2 separate regions of the Homo sapiens genome follow, and region 1 is linked to region 2. The links are contacts of gene promoters, found by promoter capture Hi-C in blood cells and fetal thymus (Javierre and others, 2016). All regions are on one chromosome and are shown on one strand. The core of a region is centred on a gene start or on the middle of the fragment in contact, and the rest is flanking DNA. Distances in the headings are between cores, read along the strand shown.

What was found. The method cuts DNA at HindIII sites, captures the fragments that hold promoters and counts their contacts. A CHiCAGO score of 5 or more calls a contact.
Region 1: the fragment with the promoter of RASAL1 here is called in contact with the fragment with the promoter of OAS1 in region 2 in 8 of 17 cell types (total CD4 T cells, naive CD8 T cells, activated CD4 T cells and 5 more); the score reaches 8.4 in total CD4 T cells.

What each region holds. Positions count from the first base shown.
Region 1 is chr12:113,132,008-113,137,627 of GRCh38, reverse strand. RASAL1 (RAS protein activator like 1) reads left to right here and starts at 1,867. Exons shown (of 21, transcript NM_001301202.2): 1 at 1,867-2,230. The coding sequence starts at 2,166. RefSeq lists a silencer at 1,741-1,880. The HindIII fragment of the contact is 4,772 bases long and covers 1-4,618 here.
Region 2 is chr12:112,904,294-112,910,242 of GRCh38, reverse strand. It overlaps OAS1 (2'-5'-oligoadenylate synthetase 1), which reads right to left and starts at 3,281. Exons shown (of 6, transcript NM_016816.4): 1 at 3,024-3,281; 2 at 1,419-1,707. The coding sequence starts at 3,203. RefSeq lists an enhancer at 3,001-3,440. The HindIII fragment of the contact is 17,002 bases long and covers 1-5,949 here.

The DNA of each region.
Region 1 (5,620 bases), core at 618-3,117, 230 kb before region 2:
GGTGGATTGCTTGAGATCAGGAGTTCAAGACCAGCCTGGCCAACATGGTGATATAAAAATACAAACTATAAAAATCTACTAAAAATACAAAAATTAACCGGGCATAGTAGTGGGTGCCTGTAGTCCCAGCTACTCAGGAGGCTGAAGCAGGAGAATCACTTGAACCCAGGAGTGGAAGTTGCAGTGAGCCAAGATCGAGCCCTGCCCTCCAGCTGGGCAAAAAAAAAAAAAAAAATCACAGTGGGATGACTCCTTTGGGGCTATTACTGTTCTGGATCTAACCCTGGATTACCCCTCATGCCCCGCTGAGGATGTTGCAATACTTCTAAGCCTTGGAGCCTGTTCTGCTAGGTCCATTTCCCAGATGGGATTAACTGAGACCCCATCTCTGGTGGGTCAGAGACTCACCAGGCAGCCACCAGCTGGGGAAGGAATTCCAGGGCTCTGAGTTCCTCATCAGCCTGTCTGGGTTGCTGGGTGGGGAGTCAAGAAGGGAGACTGGGAAGCAGACCATTGGGCTGCTGACGGATCCAGGAAGGGCACTCCTGGTCTCACCGGTCTGGGCGTTGGCTCCCGCACTCAGTCTGCAGGGGCACTCCCATTGGTGCCTGGCCTTTCTAAGAGGTCTTGGGCAGGTCAACAATGAATTCACAGGGAGAAATAAGTGTGCGAACGGATCTGTTCTGGGACAGGCCCTGCCTGTCATATTATCTCATTTAAAATCAGAAAAATGTACAAACCTGGAGCCACTGGAGCAGAGAGAAAGGAAAGAAAATCTCTACCGGAGTGGAAGGGCATCCTGGAAGCCTTCCCAGGAGAGGTGACGCGTGGCCCACGCCTCAAAGGACAACAATCAGAATATCAAACACTTTCTGGACGTGTATTAGGTACTTGTCACTGTCCTGAGACTTTTATCTTCATTAACTCTTTTAATTCTTTCAAAATCCTGTGACTGAAATGCAATGTCATCCTCACTCAACAGATGAGAAAACCAAACCAAAGCACAGAGAGGTTGAATGGCTTACCCAAGTCCAGACAGCTACCAAATGGCAGAGCCAGGATTCGAACCCCTGGAAGGCAAATCAGTTACTGACTGTGAGACCTCTGCCAAGTTATTTAATCCCTCTGAACCTCAGTTTCTTTATCCATAAACTGCGGATAATGGGGTAACAGTGGAGTAGTGTGTAGTGCACATCTGGAGACAAAAATGAGCTAATCCCAGTAAAGCGCTTAGAACAGTGCCTGGCACCCATGAAGTGTTCAAACAACTGTAGATGACTTTTTATCATCGCTGTAGTGGTTATCTTCAAGCCTTCCCCTCCCCCATCTGGCCGCGGCTTCCTCCCCCGCAGTGCCAGCCCGTGACGTTAGAGCAGAGTCTGGGTTCTGTGTTTAACTGGAAACTAGAACGAGATGGAAGGGGATGTTCAAGGCCCCTCCCTTGACTCTGAACGGACCCCCAGGGAACATGCGACCCTCTCTCTGGCGACGCCTCCCACCCACCACTAATACTTGCTCCTGGACCGGGGGGCGCGGAGGTTGGAGAGAGGAGGCAGGTGTCTGCATGGTAGGCAAGGAGGGGTGGGGGCGGAGAGGTGTGAATATGTTGGATGAGGGACAGGCGGGGGCACAGACCATGTCTTTTAAGCCCAATGCCAACTCACCAGGAGCCAGCGGCCACGCCCATCAGGACGGGGGCCCCTCCCCACCTGGCGGTGCACCCTTGTCTCCGCCGCCCGTGCGCTCTGGCGCGCATGACTGGGGTGCCGGTAGAGGGCGCGCGAGGGGGCCCGGGGTCAGGTGGGGGACCCCATTGGAGGCGGGATTGTGGGGAGGTCCCTGGGCCGCCCCTCCCGCCCCCTGCCCGCCCAGCCTGCTTGTCTGGAGCTCCAGACGCCTCGGCAAGAGCCCGCTGCGCCCCCTGCGCGCTCCTCCTGCTCGGAGCACGGCTCCTACCTGTAGAGTCCGGACGGGCGCTCCCTCCCCGGGCACCTACACCTTCTCCTCTTTCGGAAATCTCCCATCCAGCTACCCGGGTCTCGGACAGGCGGCACTGGGACCACGAGGCAGGGAGCCAGGCTTGAAGCAGGTGACATGTAGACGTCCCCTGGTCCAGCCTCGGAACCTGAGCGCCCTTCTGCCTGGAAAGTTTGTGGCTAGGCGCCATGGCCAAGAGCAGCTCCCTGAATGTTCGCGTGGTGGAGGGCCGCGCGCTGCCTGCCAAGGACGTGTGAGTACTCCTCGGGCGCTTCTGGGTGAGGGGCGCGCAAGGCCTGGGGTGGGGCCGACGTCGCCCTTTCCGCGTGCCAGGGCGGGTTGGCAGGAGGGCGAGGGGTTCTTGTCCAAGACTGGTCTTGGGGCAGTTCCGCTTTAAAGGGGCGAGAGGCCGCATGCCCATGGCTGTCCCGGTGGGAGGGGGGCGCCTAGAGTTAGCAGATGCCCCGCCTCACCCCCGGGCAGGGGAGGGGGTGTCTTTGTTCCCGGGATGTACTAAAGGGGGTCGTCCAGAGCTGAAGAGGGGATTAGAGGGCCATATTCTGTCAGATCTGGGAGGGGAGAAAGCGGGGGGTCTCTTCCTTAGTCCAGGCAGATGTTGGAGGTGGCTCCTCCAGGCGTGGGTGGGGGCCTAGCAAGGGAACCCTGGGGAGGACCCTTGGAGAGGGCCTGGGATCAGATGAGCCCTAACATCCTGTGTGGATCTGGTGCTTAGGTTTGCAGAGTGTCACCAGGTGGCCCTCCAGGGTCCTTTTGACCCCAAGCCCTGAGCTCCCCAGTCTTGTGGCTCCCAGCCTCGTGTGGGCCTTCCCCGGGTGCTGAGCTGCTTGAAGAGCCAATTCCTTGCTGCGACCCCCTCCCCAGCCAGGTGCAATGGGACTGGGGGACCCTACGGCTCCCTTCACTACTAGTCCCAAGCTATGCTTCCCCCAGGGCTGAGTCAGCAGCTGCTGAATCAGCAGAATATGGGGGGCGGGTTCCCCCTCCTGCTTGGCATAGTGCCCAGAAGGGGCTCTGAGGGCCTTAGCACCTGCGACAGGTGTGGGATCCTCTGGAGGACATTTGTTGTGTGACCTTGAACCTGCTTCTCTCTGGGCCTTGGTTTCCCATTTGGGCAATGAGAGCTCTGGACCGGAGTCCCCATCTGGTTGCCTGGGGTCTCCCATCCAGCTGGGAGGGTGGAGGACCTGTTAGGAGTTCCCCTGTGGCCCAGGTGAGCAGGAGCATGGATTGGGAGCCTTCACCTGTGTCAAGATTCAGTCTTAGCTCTGTGCTGATTCCCCAAGGTGTGGGCTCCCAGAGAGGACTTTCCTGCCTGATTTTATGACATTCCCAACCCCCAAAACACTGCAGCTGCGTCAAGGGGGCAGCTGTTGAGAGCAATTTTTGCCACCCTTCATCCTCATTGGCTACTCCAAATATACACACCCTGAATGAGAAGCAGAGTGTGTGCTCTGACAGTTCAGTGGCTGGACAAGCCCCCCCACCAGACTCTTTCTAAGATGTCCCCTCAGAGGCCCTGGGAATGAGACGGCCTACACTGTTAGGGCATTGAGGCCAGGCTGGATGCCTGGCAGCTGCTAGGTGGTGAAAGGAGTTCTTTCCAGAAACGGGGTTCTCACTCACTGAGCTCTGGCCCCTCCACCAGCCCTGGGTGAGAGGTCATGAGGGGGCGATGGGTGTCACCCCTGCACCTGGACACTGGCTTACGGTAACCTGCTGCTCTTCTGGAGAAGGGACTTGAGTCATGCCTGGTTCCTGCAGCTCTTGGCCAAACTTCCTGCCCCCAATTCCTGGGCCAGTGAGCTATGAAATAGGTCATGCCCTAGAGCAAGGGTGGGGAGGAGTCACTTAGCCCCAGCTGGCAGGGGGGGTTCTGGCCACCCTGCCTCAGTTTCCCTAGCTGTCAGCACCCTTCTTCAAAGGGGCTCTTCCTGGAGGCTGCTGGGAGCTCCATGCCATGGGAGCCCTTAGGTGGGGTGTGTTCTTTCCCTCTTCTCCTAAGGGAAAGGGCCCAGATTCTGCCTAAAGCATTGCCAGGTTTGAGGGGGGTCCATTCTGGCCCGGGAGGAGGCCTCTTCAGGTAATTTTAGAGTTTTTACTATTAGAAATAGTAGCAGTCAGTCACTGAGGGCTTAGTATGGACAGGCCCTGTGCTTAACACTTCATATAGTTCTATTGGCGTCTCTTATTTTACAAATGGGGAAACTGAGGACCAGAGAGGCAGTCACTTGCCTAAGGTCACCCAGCTGCGATTTGAACTCTGACTACTCCATGCCCAAACCAGACTGGGCAGGCAATGGCTGAGGGGCCTGCTTTCCCAAGACTGAGCTGAGTCAGGGGCCGTGGGAGAGGCCACAAGTCTGGAGAGATCAGGGGTCTGGAAGCAGCCACCCCCTCTTGCCACCGTTGCCCTCCCTGATAGGAGTCTGATAAGGCCCTCATGCGTCAGAGCCCTGCAGCTGACTAGTGCTGAGCTCGGCTCCCAGGAGGGCCTGGAGGTCAGGCTGGGTCTGCAGGAGGGGGTGTGTCTCCCAGCCCTCGGCTAGTGGGATCCCAGCCCATCTGACCCCACATCTGTAGTTGGGGAAACTGAGGGGTGGGAGCCTGCATAAAGGAAGCTTAGGGGTGGAGAACCCAGGGAAGGAAACTGAGACACAGGACATTACCAGCCACAGGAGTCTGAAGGTGAAGCCCAGATGGGGAAACTGAGGCTCCAATGGATTTGGGATGGAGCCAGAAGAGGAAACTGAGGCTTGGGGCACTCCACAGAAGGGGATTCAGATGTAGGATCCACAGAGGATCACGAAGACACTGTCTGTCTAAAGTGTTCAGGGATAGAAGCCAGGTAGGGAAATGGAGGCATTGGAGTGTCCAGCCAGAGGGGGATGAGGGAAGGAGTCCAGAGAGGGAAACCGAGGCACAGGGAAGGGCTCATCCAGCAAGATAGGTTCAGGTTGGAGGCAACTCTTAGCGCCAATGTCCCTCTTTCCTGGCATCCCAGAGGCATTTGTGGATCTATACAAACTGGAGAGACAGAAGGTGGCAGAGATCAAGGGAGTGGTGCTGGGGCATCGAGGGAGAGGGCCATTTGAATAGGTAGAGGGGGCATTGGTTTCAGAACATGAGTGTGAGCCCACAAACCTGGGTCCCAGTCCTATCTCCACTGTTACTCCGTGCTCCAGAGAGAGCACTCCATAAACCCAGTCATTCAGAAATAGCTCTAGAGGGCCAAATGCATGCCAGATGTGGGGGCCAGGGGTGGGGAAGTGGGGGACACAGACTCTCCCCAGGGAGTTCACAGTTTGGAAGTGGCAGGGAGGTGGGGAGACAATACTAAACGCATAGAGAAATAAGGGAGGCCGGCTGTGGTGGCTCACGCCTGTAATCCCAACACTTTGGGAGGCCGAGGCGGGTGGATTACTGGAGGCCAGGAGTTGGAGTCCAGCCTGGCCAGCATGGTGAAACCCTGTCTCTACTAAAAATGCAAAAAATTAGCCAGGTGTGGTGGTGTGTGCCTGTAATCCCAGCTACTCAGGAGGCTGAGGCAGGAGAATCGCTTGAACTTGGGAGGCAGAGATTGCAGTGAACCAAGATCGCGCCACTGCACTCCAGCCTGGGTGAT
Region 2 (5,949 bases), core at 2,032-4,531:
GCACACACCACCACGCCCAGCTAATTTTTGTATTTTTAGTAGATGTGAGATTTCACCATGTTGGCCAGGCTGGTCTTGAATTCCTGACTTCAAGTGATCCCCCCACTTTGGCCTCCCAAAGTGCTGAGATTACAGGCGTGAGCCACTGTGACCAGCCTTCTCCCTCTTGTCTTTTACAACCATTGTACTTCAGCCCCCAACACAGGAGATGGCACAAAGGAGAGAATCCAAAACTTTCTCATACCCTGGTGTCTTTGGAGAGTCAGCATTTTTTTTTTCATGGCTGCCCTAGGACTAAAGGAAACTGTGACAGTTCCTTTAATTAAGTCCTAATTACTTGATAATTAATCACTAATTACTGCTTAATGACCAACTATTAATTAGTAGCCACTAATCAGTAAGTTCAGTTTAATAGTAGCCGTTTGTGCGGTGTGTGACAGATGTCATCGCATTTCCCTCAAAAAATTAAAATCTAAACTATTCCGTGTCCCTCTGTGAGTTCACTGTGGTGTTTTGAGGTGCCTTCATATACAGCTGGGAAATTCATAGTTTTGACTGATTGACTGATTGATTGAGACAGGGTCTTGCTCTTGCTCTGTGCCTAGGATGGAGTGCAGTGGTACATTCGTGGCTCACTGACACCTCGAATCCTTGGCTGGCCTCATGTGATCGTTCAGTCTCAGCGTCCTGAATAACTGCGACCACAGGCATGTACCACCACACTTGGCTAATGTTTTAAAATTTTTAGTAGAGATGAGGTTTCACTTTGCTGCCCAGGCTGGTCTTGAACTCCTGGGCTCAAGCGACCCTCCTGCCTCAGCCTCCAAAAGTGTTGGAATTACAAGCATGAGCCACCACACTTGGCTGGAAGTTCCTATTTTTGAACACCTATTACTCATCAGAGCTGAATGTAGATGATCATTTATCACTTAAAATAATGATATGATACAGGTAGTGTGGTTTTACCAATTCTCCTGATGTGGCAAGGGAGCCTCTGAGAGGTTACACTTCCTGTCCAAATGTTCCTGCAAATTATAAATATCTATCTCCCAACGTGCTGCATACGTTTGATGAGATCTCATGTTGGGACAAAGATGAGAGTAACATGAACTTTAAGCCACATCTTTGCTGCCTGATTTTAGAAAGATAAAATTCACACATTTTGCCTTAAACAGAACCAGTAAGCCTTGCAGATGTTCTGTAAGAAATGTCTTTGTCCCCACATTATGCCAATTTGCTGTTTAATGTCTCTCCTGTGATAGATCATGACCGTATTCATTCTTGCCCCGGGACAGATCCTAAGATCTCCTCCCACCCTGCTTTAGAGAGATGCCCTGTTGGGGCAAAAAGCTCTCAAACTGTGGGAGATTTCTGCTCAGAAATGGGAAGAGGGAGAAAAAGAAGCTGGGAGCTCTCACCCAGGGCATCAAAGGCAGGCAGCACATCGAACTCCACCCCCTCCCCGAGCTGGAGCGAACTCAGTACGAAGCTGAGCGCACGGGGGTTGCCCCAGCGTGGAGCCTGGACCTCAAACTTCACGGAAAATGCTCTCTCTCTTTGACAGGCTTCCAGCTGTCTCCTAATTTCCTGGATGAACTCTCCCCGGCGATTTAACTGATCCTGAAAAGTGGTGAGAGGACTGAGGAAGACAACCAGGTCAGCGTCAGATCGGCCTCTGAGGGTGGTGCCCTTGCCTGAGGAGCCACCCTGAAAAAGACGACAAAAATAATAATTGATGCTTAGTGAGGCAAACCTCCCTAAATAAAATGACAGGAGCAATCACTAACATTATGGAGCACTAGCCACTGTTCTGAAGGCATTGCATGTCTTAAACTCCTATAATGCTCACAATGATGCTATGATTTGGATGCCATTATCATTAGTTCCCATTTTACAGATGGGAAAATGGATGCTCAGTGAGATAATATATCAGCCCCATCACCCAGCTAGTAGGTGGCAAATACAATTCAAACCTGGGGGCCTTCTTCCAGGATCTGTGTTCTTTTCCCATTGTCCTTTACGATGCCCAGGACTAGCTTATGCTGGGTGGTTCACACTTACTATTTTACTTAATCTACACGGCCCTATGAGGTATTGAGGGAAAGTAGAGGAAAAATCAGTTAGGTAAATGGTCAAGGCTGGGCCCTGGAGGAGCGGCCTGCCTGAAACTGGCGCAGGGAGTGGGACTTACCTAAAACAAATCCACAGTTATACATACAAGAGAAGCAGCGCTTTATGCTTGCCTAGAGATATACCCACAGCTGCATAAGGTAAGGGAAGTTGCACAGCTTTACTGATAAAAAGTTTCTCAAACAGTTACAGGGAGGAGAGTGGTTTCTTATAAAAGTTTTTTGCATTCAGCTGCAATCTGGCAATCCACTCAGACTTCCCTCTCCACAGTGGAGACAGCTTTCTTCTTTTGCTTACTGAACTTTTGCTCCAAGCTCACGTTTGTGTCCATGTTCCTTAATTTTCTTGGATGCAGGACAAAGAACCTTGGGTACTAATTCAGTGAGAAGCTGCTACATTAAGGTGCACTGGCAAGACTGCAACAGTATTGGGGATTATGGCTGAGGAAATTGGAACACAGAGTAGTTAAGTGACTTGCTCAAGGTCTTGCAGCCAGCAGGTGCTATTTGCTTTCAAAACATATGATTCTTCACTGCAGAAATGGTGAGCCCCTAGCCTGGCCACGAATTAGCAAACTGTTTACCAGAGCTGGGATTCAGTTCCCTATTTCTGAAATGGGCATCGCCCAGGACAGTGGTTCATAAACTTCAGCGGGAAGTAGGGGGGAGGGTCACTTGTTAATAATAGGGATGTAGGATTTCACCCCAGAATCTATTTTAACATGCTGTGTGGATAAATAAGAAACCACCATCCCAGAAGATCTCAGCTCTCTGTACTCACATTTGCACCCTGGGTTCTAGGTTTTTGCTTCTCTCTCTCTCTCTCTCTCATTCTCAATCTCAACTCTTGCACATTCAGCCACCCCTCCCCTGGCCAGGCAGGCCTGGACTCACCTTTACCACCTTGGACACACACACAGGGTAGGAGCTACCTCGGAAGCACCTTTCCTTCAGGAACCCACAGATGATGTCAATGGCATGGTTGATTTGCATGCGGAAACACGTGTCTGGCAAGAGATAGTCTTCAATGAACTTGTCCAGAGATTTGGCTGGGGTATTTCTGAGATCCATCATTGACAGGAGAGAGAGTGGCAACAGAACTGCCTCCCAGACCTGTTTGCTTTTATCTCTTCTGCTGACTGAGCTTGGACTGCTGTTGGTTTCGTTTCCTCAGAAGGGAGGAGCTGTCTTTGCACTTTCCTTTTGCAAATCAGACACTCCCCTGATCCCAGTGCTGAATTTCATCTGCTCACTCTTCTGCTTCCTGAAACTTACCCTTTGTCCTTTAGCCAGCAACAAGCAGCCCAGCCTTTCTCTGAACTCTGCTCTGGAAATGCATTTTAACCTCCAGCCAACATAAATCTTATTTAACAGATTTTGTGTTTCCTTCTTTATCTTTTTTTTGTTGTTGATGAAATCCTTTCACAGTTGTCTGTGGTATTTTCCAGCAATACATGCCCACTGCAAAAAGAAAAAAAGTCAGAAAAACCAGGAAGTGGAAAGATCATCTATGATTCTAACACTACAAAATTGCCTCTATAAACGTTTTGATATAGAGCTTTCCAGATTTTTTTCAAATGTTAACACACACACAAACACAGGTCTCTTTTCTTTTTGTTAAGAATGGTATTATACTATGCTTTTTTCCCTTTCAATTAGTAGATTTTTATTTTATTTTATTATTTTTTGGAGACAGGATCTTGCTTTGTTATCCAGGCTGGAGTGCAGGGGCATGATCATGACTCGTGCAACCTCAACTTCCTGGGTTCAAGGGATCCTCCTGCCCCAGCCTCCTGAATACCTGGGACTACAGGCATGCGTTACTGCACCCAGCTCATTTTTTATTTTTTGTAGAGACAAGGTCTTGCTATGTTGCCCAGGTTGGATTTTATTTCTCACAGCAGTTTTAGGCTTACAGAAATATTGAGCTGAATGTGCAGAGAGTTCCATAAGCTCTCTCTCCTGCCAATAAGTTCCTCTATTATTAACAGTACTGTGATACATTTGTTACAATTGATGAATTGATATTAATACATCATAATTAACAAAAGTCCATTTACATTAAGGTTTACATTAAGGTTCACTCTTGTGTCCTACAGTTCTATGGATTTTGCCAAACATAACATGTCATGTATCCACCATTACAGCACCATGCAGAATAGTTTTGAGATAGGAGGTGGGGCTTGACTCAGGGCCAGATTGAAGACTGGCTGGCATGAGCACCAGCACCATGAACAGTTTACTCATTCCCTGGCAATGACCCAGTTACCACCCTTCTTCTAGAAATTTCTGAATAACCTGCCCTTAATTTGCACGTATTTAAAAGTGGGTATGAATGTGACTATAGAAGTGCCCTGAGCTGCTGCTCTCCAGGCACTGCCTATGGGGTGGCCCTGCTCTGCAGGGACAGTCACAGAACTGTAACCCTGCTGCCTCAATAAACCTTTTTCTTCCTCCTCTAGCTCACCCTTGAATTCCTTCCTGGACGAAGCCAAGAGCCTTCCCGGACGGTGTCCCAGTTTTGGGGCTCCCCTGCCCTGCAAGAGTTTCACTACCTTAAAATCCCCTATGCCTCACCTGTTCATCCCTCTCTGAGTTAGATCTTTCTTCTCCTAATATATGCATTCAATGCTATAACTTTCCCTCTAAACACTACTTTCACTACATCCCACACTTTTTGATAGGCTGTTTTTTCATTTTAATTTAATTCAAAATATATTTATTTATTTTGTTGAGACAGGGTCTCACTCTGTTGCCCAGGCTGGGGTGCAGTGGCACAATCTTAGCTCACTGCAGCCTTGACCTCCTGGGCTCAGGTGATCCTCCCACCTCAGCCTCCCAAGTAGCTGGGACTACAGGTACATGCCACCATGCCTGGCTAATTTTTGTATTTTTTGTAGAGATGGGGTTTCTGCATGTGGCCCAGTCTGGTCTCGAACTCCTGGGCTCAAGCGATCCATCTGCCTCAGCCTCCCAAAGTGCTAGGATTATAGGCGTAAGCCACTGAGCCTGGCCCAAAATATTTTAAAATTTCTCTTGAGACTTCTTCCTTGCCCCATGTGTTATTTAGAGGTGTGTTCTTTAATCTCCATATATTTTGGAATTTTCCAGCTATCTTTCTTTTGTGGGTTTCTTTTTTAATTCCATTGTAGTAAAGGGCATGCTTTGCATAACATATCTCTGTTGAAATTTGTTAAAGTGTGTTTTCTAGCCCAGAACATAATATGTCTTGGTGAATGTTCTGTGTGAGTTTGAGAAGAATGTGTTTCCTGTTTTTGTTGGATGAAATATTTTGTAAATGCCAACTATCTTTCTTACAAACCCTTAACCTCTTAACCAGATTATTCATGAGTTGACACTCTCCACTCCTACTGTATAAGATGTTGACTTTGGCCTAAGACTAAATGTCACCATGAGGGTGGGGTGCTGTCTTTGCAATACTCACTTCATTTACTAGTTGAAGATTCTTGCTGCACTGTATGCAAAAAATTAGGCCAAGTATGATAAAGCAAACCAGTCATACCATTGTAGCAGGAAGAGCTGCAGACAAAAACCCCTCAGACACCGAGTTAAAGAAGGAAGGGGTTTATTCGGCCGGGAGCATGGGCAAGACCCCTGTCTCAAGAGCTGAGCTCCCCGAGTGAGCGATTCTTGTCCCTTTTAAGGGCTCACAACTCTAAGGGGGTCCATGTGAGAGGGTCGTGATGGATTGAGCAAGCAGGGGGTACATGACTGGGGGTTGCATACACCAGTAATTAGAACAGAACAGAATAGGACAGGGATCTTCACAGTGCCTTTTTTATGCAAATAACCTATTAGG